Linked DNA regions of Homo sapiens: region 1 is linked to region 2. The links are contacts of gene promoters, found by promoter capture Hi-C in human tissues and cell types (Jung and others, 2019). All regions are on one chromosome and are shown on one strand. The core of a region is centred on a gene start or on the middle of the fragment in contact, and the rest is flanking DNA. Distances in the headings are between cores, read along the strand shown.

Region 1 (5,238 bases), core at 2,739-5,238, 150 kb after region 2:
GAGAATTATTCCTTGACTCTTTCAACTTCTGGCAGTCCCTGTCATTCCTTGGCTTGTGGAAACATCACTCCTACCTCTGACTCTGTCTTCATATGGCATTTCCTCTGTGTCTCTTGGTGTCTTTTTTTTTTTTTTTTTTTTTTTTGAGACGGAATCTCATTCTGTTGTCCAGGCAGGAGTGCAGTGACATGATCTTGGCTCACTGCAACCTCCACCTCTCAGGTTCAAGTGATTCTCCTGCCTCAGCCTCCCAAATAGCTGGGACTACAGGCACCCGCCACCACACTCAGCTAATTTTTGTATTTTTAGTAGAGATGGGGTTTCACCATCTTGCCCAGGCTGGTCTTGAACTCCTGACCTCAAGTGATCCGCCCACCTTGGCCTCCTAAATTGCTGGGATTACAGACGTGAGCCACCATACCCGGCCTGGTGTCTTTTTTAAAGAATATCAGTCACTGGATTTGGGCCCACCCTAATCCTAATAGTATGACTTCATCTTAATTTAACCAATTATATCTGTAGAGACCCTGTTTCCAAATAAGGTCACATTCACAGATTCCAGGTGGACAAGAAGTTTAGGCGGACACTATTCAACTCAGTACAGACCCAGGAACAAAGTCCACCCACTGGGCTGTGTTGAGTGGCAGTCACTAGTTTATCCTCCCTCAACAAGATGAGCTCCAGGTTGACCTCTGCATCCCCAGTGCTCAGTCAGGACCCAGCAGAGCATCTGAAGGGATCTGGTCAATATGTGTGGAACTGAACTGTTTCTGAAAAGCTCTGACGTATGTTTTGGAAAATCAAATCTTGTTTTAATCCAGACACCAATCTTTTTGTAAGGCAAACAAGTAGCATAAATGTTTAAAAGTGAATTTGCATGTTTATATACTGTCATTCCTTAAAGTTGAAGCATGCCTTTCTTTATTCATCGGTGGAATCCTTTCTCATTTTGGCAAAGAAAATGCCCAAGTGCCTGGCACAAACAAGCACTGAGTAAATACTTCTTGAATGAATAAAACTAGATTCTAAAAATCATTTGATCAAACGCAACTCCACACTTTCTACTTCTCTTCTTTTAGAACCACACTGTATTTCTGCTTTTTTTTTTTTTTTTTTTTTTTTTGACATAGAATCTCACTCTGTCACCCAGGTTGGAGTGCAGTGGCATGCAATCTTGGCTCACTGCAACCTCTGCCTCCTGGGTTCAAGCAGTTCTCCTGCCTTAGCCTCCCATGTAGCTGGGATTACAGGTACCCGCCACCATGCCCAGCTAATTTTTGTATTGTTAGTAGAGATGGAATTTCACCATATTGGCCAGGCTGGTCTTGAACTCCTGACTTCAAGTGATCCACCCACCTTAGCCTCCCAAAGTGCTAGGATTACAGGTGTGAGCCACCACTCCCAGCCCCTATGTCTGCTTTAAGTGGAGAAGCAGAGCTTATGAGGGAGGAGAACAAGGGTGCAAAAGGGACCTAGATATCACTGAGAACTGCCCTTGTTGTTTGGTTGAGGAAATGGGCCCAGACAGTGGACAAGACTTGCTCAGGGAGACAAACGAGATGGTGTCCAGTGCAACAAACCTAGGTTTCCTAACTTCCAGTTCTGTCCACTCTACATCAGTGCCTCTCACCTGTCCCTGCAGGTTCACATTTTGGTTATGTGGATAAGGAGAAATAAATTGAAGATCACAATGTCCCATTTTATCTTCCCCAAGACAAGCTCTGTAACATTAAAGACCACTATGCAAACCGATTACTAGAAAATGTGTGTGGATGGGTTCGGTTTTTTTCCTAAGGTGTTCATGCTTACTGTTTTGGGCAATATTTCAACATAATCTGGCAGAAAAAGAAACAGAAGATAAAGAAAATAGCTGTAGGCCGGGTGCAGTGGCTCATGCCTGTAATCCCAGCACTTTGGAAGGCTGAGGCTGGCGGATCACTTGAGGTCAGGAGTTCGAGACCAGCCTGGCCAACACGGCGAAACCCCATCTGTATTAAAAATACAAAAATTAGCCAGGCGTGGTGGCGTACCTGTAAACCCAGCTACTCGGGAGGCTGAGGCAGGAGAATGGCTTGAACCCAGGAGGTGGAGGTTGCAGTGAGCTGAGATTGCAGCACTGCATTCCAGCCTGGGCGACAGAGCAAGACTGCATCTCAAAAGAAAAGAAAAGAAAAAAGAAAAGAAAAGAAAAGAAAACAGCTGTGATTCAGCAATAGTCATTTTCTCTCCTTGTCACTGCCAGAGTGAGGAAGTGCTGGGTTCTGTCAACATAGGCTCTGACTTCTCATGAGGTGCAAGAAAGAAGCAGCATGAACAAAGGCATAGATTTTGCACCTGGAGACACGTATTCTAGTCCCACCTCTGACTCAAACTAGCTGCATGATCTTGGGCAGCCCCCCAGCCCTCTCTGGGCTTCAGTTCCCTCCTCGGTACAATGGGAAGGGTAGGGAAGAGGATGGTGCCTAGGATCTTCAAAGTCCCAACTCTGATGTGCTGCCATTCTCTCACTGGCATGTGGGAACTGAGTGTGCTACGTGGAGTCATGAGACTTCTTCTTCCTTTTCTTTTTCTTTTTTTTTTTTTTTTTTTTTGAGACCGAGTCTCACTCTGTCGCCCAGGCTGGAGTGCAGTGGTGCGATCTCGGCTCACTGTAACCTCCACCTCCCGAGTTCAAGCAATTCTCCTGCCTCAGCCTCCTGAGTAGCTGGGATTACAGGCGCACCCCATGCCCGGCTAATTTTTGTATTTTTAGTAGAGATGGGGTTTCACCATGTTGGCCAGGCTGGTCTCAAACTCCCGACCTCAGGTGATCTGCCCACCTCGGCCTCCCAAAGTGCTGGGATTACAGGCGTGAGCCACCTTGTCTGTTCAGAGACTTCTGACTTCCGTATTTCCCTCGCTAATGGCCTCACCTCCCGTTTGAGTATGTGCAGCATGTGCAAATTGCAGAGGAACTGGGGAACTTCCCTGCCAGGCAATCCTGGGTCCTCTTGGCTCTCCACTTCCTCCTTCCTTCCTTCCTTCCTCCTTCCTTCCTTCCTTCCTTCCTTTCTTTCTTCCTTGGTCTGGCTCTGTCGCCCAGGGGCTGGAGTGCAGTGGCGGTATCTCGGTACAAACTAAGCTATTTGAAATGCCTCGGAATTCCCAAAGAAAGCTCAGTAAATACCAGACAGATGAAACGGTCCTGCCCGCTCTCCCTCTTTCAGTACCCAGTTTTCTCTTTCCTCTCCTTTCATAACGTTTCTTCCCATCATCCCTCTACCTCCTTATTTCTGTCAGGGCTGTTAGATACCCTTCCGGTCTGTTATCTCCTCCTCCAGCCTTGTGCTACAGGACAACTCAAAAGCCCCCTATGGCTCCCAAGTGATCACTAAATAAAACTCGTGATCTCACTTCAGCCTACCCCTGCAGGATTGCTGCGGCAAAATGGACTACTCCCAGAGGCGTGATCACGGTTCGGTTCACTGCAGCCCAGACTTCCCGGGCTCAAGCGATCCCGAACCTCCCACCTCAGCCTCTCGAGTAGCTGGGACTCCAGACGTGCACCACTACGCCAGGCTCATTTTGTTTATTTTTTATAGAGACAGGCTAGTCTCCAACTTGTGGGCTCAGAGCGATCCTCCCGCCTCGACTTCCGAAAGTGTTAGGATTACAGGCGTGAGCCACTGCGTCCGGCTCAATGGACTCCTTCTTAAATGTGAGTTCTCCGCACACACTGGGCCTTGCTCACCTCCACGATTTAACCTCGCAGTTAAGTCCCTTTTCAAGGTTTTTATTCGTCCTTCAGCGAAGCGCTGTCAACGCCTCCCTGCGTCTTTCCCTTCTTGAGCACCAGAGGGCGCTCCTCCGACCCGAGGAGGAAGCGACTCGGGCCAACCTGTCCAGGTTGTCCCACCCCTTTTTCCTTCCGGGCCAATCGTTAGTCAGAGTGGGCGGAGCCGCCCGCGGGCACCTGCGCGTTAAGAGTGGGCCGCGTCGCTGAGGGGTAGCGATGCGGGCTCCGGGGATGAGGTCGCGGCCGGCGGGTCCCGCGCTGTTGCTGCTGCTGCTCTTCCTCGGAGCGGCCGAGTCGGTGCGTCGGGCCCAGCCTCCGCGCCGCTACACCCCAGACTGGCCGAGCCTGGATTCTCGGCCGCTGCCGGCCTGGTTCGACGAAGCCAAGTTCGGGGTGTTCATCCACTGGGGCGTGTTCTCGGTGCCCGCCTGGGGCAGCGAGTGGTTCTGGTGGCACTGGCAGGGCGAGGGGCGGCCGCAGTACCAGCGCTTCATGCGCGACAACTACCCGCCCGGCTTCAGCTACGCCGACTTCGGACCGCAGTTCACTGCGCGCTTCTTCCACCCGGAGGAGTGGGCCGACCTCTTCCAGGCCGCGGGCGCCAAGTGAGTGTGGTCCCGGGGAGCGGCGCCCCTTCCCGGCTCGGGCGGCAAACAGGAGGTGGGGCTGGGCGGCCAGCTGGGGCGCGCAGCTGCCGGTCGCCCCCATGACCCCGGGGCCCGCGTGTGGCCTCCTGCGGCCACAGGAGTGAGCCTGGCACACCTGATGAGGAGGAGGAGGTGCGTTTGACTGGGGACTGATAAATGAAGGTTCAGGGAGATGGCAGGCTGGGAAGCCCTGGGTATCTGCACCTGTGCACCGAGAGGGCTGAGTTAGGCCATACCTGATGTCCCTTTCAGATTGACAGCACTATCAGGACTCCAGGGTTTCAAATCAGTGGTGTGGAGCCTGGTTCTAATTCAACTGTGAACCTGGACATGTCACTTCAGCCTCCCTGCAGCCTCTTCTATGGTTGTAGAAAGGGGTTATATAAGGATACAACCCTTTGAGCCCTAATGTCTCTAAGAGGGAAAGAGAGGGGAGTTCTGGTGTGCAGTGTATTTGGGCAACAGTACAGATAGTCATTCGTTTGCTCCTCTCAATCCCTTTTACGTAGGAAGTGTCCAGGAAGGGTCTGACTCTCTCTGAGAACTGTTGGAACTTGGGGGTGGCTGGTTCAGAGAACAGAGTAGAGAGCGCTGGGGTGGGGATAAGGGGAGACCACGACCCATGAAGTTGTCAAGGCAGGGGCTTGTCCTGAAGGAGTGAGCCTTGAGAGCCCTGTATTGACAGATGTTAAGTCAGGGAGTGGTTACTATCAGCTTCTAGAAAGATTCATTCGGCTGCTGGGAGAGAAGTGGGTTGGAGAAGAGTAAAAATGGAGGCGGGGAGGTTTCCCCAGCCCCTGGCTTAGAGCAGTCTTC
Region 2 (5,147 bases), core at 1,059-3,558:
TACTAAAAACACAAAATTAAGCAGGTGTGGTGGCGCATGTCTATGAGCCCAGCTACTTGGGAGGCTGAGGCAGGAGAATCACTTGAACCCAGGAGGCTGAGGTTGCAGTGAGCTGAGATCACACCATTGCACTCCAGCCTGGGCTACAAGGTGAAACTCTATCTCAAAAAAAGAAAAAAAAAAGAGCAGGATGCCAAATGAGCAGGATGCCTCCTTTCTGGGTCTCCTGCCCCCCTTGTATGTCTGCAGGACTACTCGGGGAGGTGACTCCCATGCTCTCTGCCCACATCAATTTGCTTCAGGCTGTACACTTGGCTGTCTCTCTTGGACAAAAACCACCATGTGCCCCAGTTGTGGTCCCTAATATATCCTCAATGCTGGCCAGACCACTCCTGCTCATAGGTCACCGCTCCACCCTGTCACCATCACCTGATTGGATACCAGTTCTCCTCTGATTCACCCCTCATGCATGCTGCAGCTTTGAGTTGCCCAGGAGGGCCATTTCTAACCCCTGAGCAACTGTCAAAGAAAAACAAGCCAGACACTAGTTAAAGCAGTGAAAACAGATTATATGCAGTAATGAGGGGCAGTAGGGAAAGGAGCTGAGCTCTCTTCTGGTTTACCCAGAGGTGACAGCATTTTAAAGGGAGAATGGGAGTGGGAGTGGGAGTGGGAGTGGGTGGAGGCAAGCAGGGACTAAAGGGAAAAATGATCAAGTGAAAATGCAGTCGGCCAGCTGTGTCTGCTAGCTGGTGATCAACAAGGTCGGGATTCTGTCCTCCCACAGAGACTGGGAGACAGAGGCCCTCCTGATAATCACATTTCAAAGGAATGGCTTTCAGGTCTTTGAGAAAGGTAAGTTGTAGGAGATAGACACACATCTCAAAGGGGCAGAGGAAGGAGTCTCAATAGGAAGCCCTTTGCATGAATGCTTTGCAAAAGGGAGGTCAGGGGTCTATGTTAGGTGCTGGCTGCAACAAACAGTTAATTCTTTTGACAGCCCGGAGATTTTACAGACAGGAACTTAAAAGGGGGCTGGATGGTCCCAGAGATGCCACCTTAGGCTGCTAGAAGCCATGCTAGGGCTGGTCAAATCTCTTAGCACAGGAGTTTGGAGTCATTAGGTGAAAAGAGTTCTTGCAGTTCTCACTACCATCACACCAGACCCAGAACCCAACCAGGGCCACTGACCTTGCCCTTGCTATTTGCCTGCCTGCCAACAACCTCTGTTCTTGTCCATGAGCTGCCAACAGCCTCACCAATAATTGCTACTTACATATTTGACTCTGCAGCTCACAGTCTGCTGCTGGCGGAGGAAGGACTCAACTTCCTTCACAGCTTGGACTCCTGGTGCTACAGCTTCATCAACTTTTATGCCTAGATTAGTTTACTTCCCCAGTGCAACCATGAGCCACCACCTGGAGGTCCCAGTTATAGCCACACCCCGTGCAAAGAGCCACTGCCTACATCCCACCCAAGGCCCCACGTCTGAGCCTAGCATGGTGTATTCCTTCTTCTCCATTGTCGCCTCTCTCTCTGGAACACAATTGCACCTACGGTGTGGTTCCATCCCCCACCAAACATGCCCAGGTAAATTTGAACCCCAAGTGAGGGCAAAGCTCACATTTTTCACCTGGTGCTCCTAAACCTGTGTAAATAAACAGTTCTAACCATGCAGCCGGAAGCTATTTTATACTGTTATCTAATGTGGGCTTTGTTCCTGAATCTTTCCGCCCATTTGGGAAGCAGGTAGGACATTTGAAGCTCATTCCCTCAGGAAGTGATGGGGGATACAGCAGAACAAAGAGTCCATTCTTAGCTTTTGAGTTTCAAATAGACCTTTGAAATTTATGCCAGAGAGCATATTTGTGGGGGGAAATAGGGGCAGGAGTTGAATTTTTAAATCTAAAGCCTAGGCCAGGGGCAGTGGCTCACATCTGTAATCCCAGAGCTTTGGGAAGCCAAGGAGAGGATCACTTAAATCCAGGAGTTTTGAGACCAGCCCGGGCAATATAGTGAGACTCTGTTTCTACAAAAAGTAAACAAAAATTCACCAGGCATTTGTGGAGTACCTACAGTCCTAGCTATTTAGGAGGCTGAAGTTGGAGGATCACTTGAGATGGAGAGTTTGAGGCTGCATGAGCCATGATCGCGCCACTGCACTCCAACGGCGACACATTGAGATCCTGACTCATAAAATAAAATAAAATCTGGCGGGGTCCAGTGGCTCATGCCTGTAATCCCAGCACTTTGGGAGGCCGAGGCGAGCGGATCACCTGAGGTCAGGAATTCCAGACCATCCTGGCCAACATTGTGAAACCCCATCTCTACTAAAAATACAAAAATTAACCAGATGTGGTGTCACTCGCCTGAAATTCCAGCTACTCGGGAGGCTGAGGTGGGAGAATTGCTTGAACCCGGGAGGTGGAGGTTGCAGTAAGCCAAGATGGACTCCAGCCTGGGTGACAGAGTGAGGATCCATCTCAAAAAAAATAAAATAAAATAAAATCTAAAGCCTGATAAAAGTTTGTGTCTCAATAAATTCAGCGTGATGAAGTACAGCAATAGCAGCTTCAAGATTGAGAGGAGAGGGGCAAGTTGGGGAGGAGGGAGAGGGTTCTTAGGTGTGTCACTGAGAAGAGGCCCTGTTCCATGTCATGCTAGTTCCCTGGCCCATTCTCAAGGGTAAGAATGATGTCAGACCCCATCAAGTCTCACTGAGGATCCAAGAGCAGAGAAGACCAAAGGCGGATGTTCTGGGAGGCTCCTGCAGCTCAAGCTTTGGGCCCTTTACTTGCACCGGCCTCTTCCAAGGCTCTGGACCTAATTTCATATTAATGGCTTTTATTTTCTTTAGAGAAGACCCCTAGAACTGCTTCAGGATCTGCCCCTGAAGAGGCCCTCAGCCTCACTTTCTCAGAAAGAAGCCCAGGACACTAGCCTGTTGGACGTAAGACCACAAGGAGCAAAAACATACCCTGGCTGAGGCCCCAGATCAACCAGCTCCCAGCCAAACCCCCAGCCGACTGCAGTTGCAAGTGGTCTCGGCCAAGACCAGGAGAAGAACCATCCATCCCACCTCAAATAGCTGACCCACAGAATCATAAACAAATAAGACAGTGTTGTCATAAGCCACTAAATCCAAGAGTGTTTTGTTATACAGAAATAGATAACTGATGCAGTGAATTTGGACAAGTCATCAAAAAAAAAAAAGAATTTTTGGATGAGTCACTTTATTCACTCAAAATAATATTTACTGGGAAAAAAAGTGAAGGGCGGAAGAATACGCCACCCCAAAATATGCTATTTTGGCTTAAGAATTATTTTGAGTTAAAGGCATGAACACTGACATTTTTTCTTTCTGAAAGCAAATTCCCAGTGACAGTTGTTCTTTCAGGACAGGTGCAGTGGCTCACACCTGTAATCCCAACACTTTGGGAAGCCAAGGCAGGAGGATTGTTTGAGTCCAGGAGTTCAAGACCAGCCTCGGCAACATGGTGAAACCCCGTCTCTATTAAAAATACAAAAATTAGCTGGGCGTGGTGGCACATGCCTATCATCCCAGCCACAAGGGAGGCTGAGACACAAGAACTGCTTGAACCCAGGAGGCAGAGGTTGCAGCGAGCCAAGATTGTACCACTGCACTCCAGCCTGGGCCACACAACAAGACTTCATCTCAAAAAAAAAAAAAAAAGCTGGACACAGTGGCTCACACCTATAATCCCAGCACTTTGGGGTGCTGAGGCGGGCAGATCACTTGAGGTCAGGAGTTCGAGACCAGCCTGGCTCTCATGGTGAAACCCCATCTCTACTAAAAAAATACAAAAATGAGCTGGGCATGGTGGCGGGCACCTGTAATCCCAACTACTCGGGAGGCTGAGGAAGGAGAATCACTTGAACCTCGGAGGCAGAGGTTGCAGTGAGCTGAGATCGCACCACTGAACTCCGGCCTGGATGACAAGAGCGAGACTCCATCTCGAAAAAAAAAGAAAAAAAAATATCTTATGTTAGCAGGGCTCTCAAAGGCAAGCACTGAATATAACAACTGGAATGGAAAAACTGAAAGAAGCTCTTCTAGTACCTAAGCAAAGCCATCCTCAATCCTAAAGCTGGGGGGCCCTGGAGTACCCTCCCGAGAAGTCTTTCTTACCCAGGATTCAGTGTACACAAATTGAAAGACTGAGGGAATGAGTAGGTTTCCTAACTCAGTTCTCCATGCCAAAGTTCATCCTCCTACGGGCTGAGAGCAGGGTAGAACTATTTCAGGCCCAACGTCAACATCCTTGAGAAATTCTTATCTGGAAAGAGTGGGGAGGTCGCCATGGCAACCTGTCCCAGGCCCAGCCCTGGCACAGCTCCAAGGCACACAAATAAAACCATTGGAATGTGGTGCAGGGCTCAGGGCGGGATAACTAGAAAGTTGCCAAGTTTCCATGAAAACCAACAATGTGAGGCCTCAGCCTCTGGAAGATGTCAGTAGGGAAGCTTGGGTCCCCACAGGGTCTACCCATGGAAATATAACACATTCCTAAATAGCACATATGTGCGCGCACACAGCATCACACGCACACAGCCTGCTTGGACGACAGCGACACTGCTTCTTGAAAAAGAGCCTTGTTGAAAGGAGAGCACTGGCCTTAGAGCCAGACAGAGATTCCAGTACCCGCCCTGTCAATTCCTGGGAACCCCAGGTCAGTTTCTGAACAAGTTATCCTCGTGGCCACCTCCCTTGCCTTCTCCATGTCTTTGTTCCAAGGTCATCTCCATGAGACATTTCCTGGTTACTTTAATTATTTATGTATTTATTCTATTTATTTATTTATTTATTTTTCTTGAGATGGAGTCTCGCTCTGTCGCCCAGGCTGGAGTGCAATGGCACGATCTCGGCTCACTGCAACCTCCACCTCCAAGGTTCAAGCGATTCTCCTGCCTCAGCCTCCCAAGTAGCTAGGATTACAGGCATGTGCCACCATGCCCAGCTAATTTTGTATTTTTAGTAGAGGTGGAGTTTCACCATGTTGGCCAGGCTGATTTTGAACTCCTGACCTCAGATGATCCACCTGCCTTGGCCTCCCAAAGTGCTGGGATTACAGGCATGAGCCACCTTGCCCAGCCGCCCTAGTCACTTTAAATCAAATTGCAGGCTG

The links. Contacts are between HindIII fragments. The study calls those that stand out against the background at their distance.
Region 1: a contact is called between the fragment with the promoter of FUCA1 here and a fragment that was not itself captured in region 2, in 1 of the 25 tissues and cell types used here (aorta).

Annotation. Positions count from the first base shown.
Region 1 is chr1:23,867,040-23,872,277 of GRCh38, reverse strand. FUCA1 (alpha-L-fucosidase 1) reads left to right here and starts at 3,988. Exons shown (of 8, transcript NM_000147.5): 1 at 3,988-4,380. The coding sequence starts at 3,992. CNR2 (cannabinoid receptor 2) reads left to right here. Exons shown (of 2, transcript NM_001841.3): 2 at 1-1,763. RefSeq lists a silencer at 4,357-4,576. The HindIII fragment of the contact is 22,530 bases long and covers 1-5,238 here.
Region 2 is chr1:24,018,187-24,023,333 of GRCh38, reverse strand. All of the region lies in intron 1 of LOC105376863 (a long non-coding RNA gene), which reads right to left. Among named protein-coding and RNA genes, the nearest start is that of SRSF10, 40 kb to the right of the region's middle. The HindIII fragment of the contact is 6,846 bases long and covers 1-5,147 here.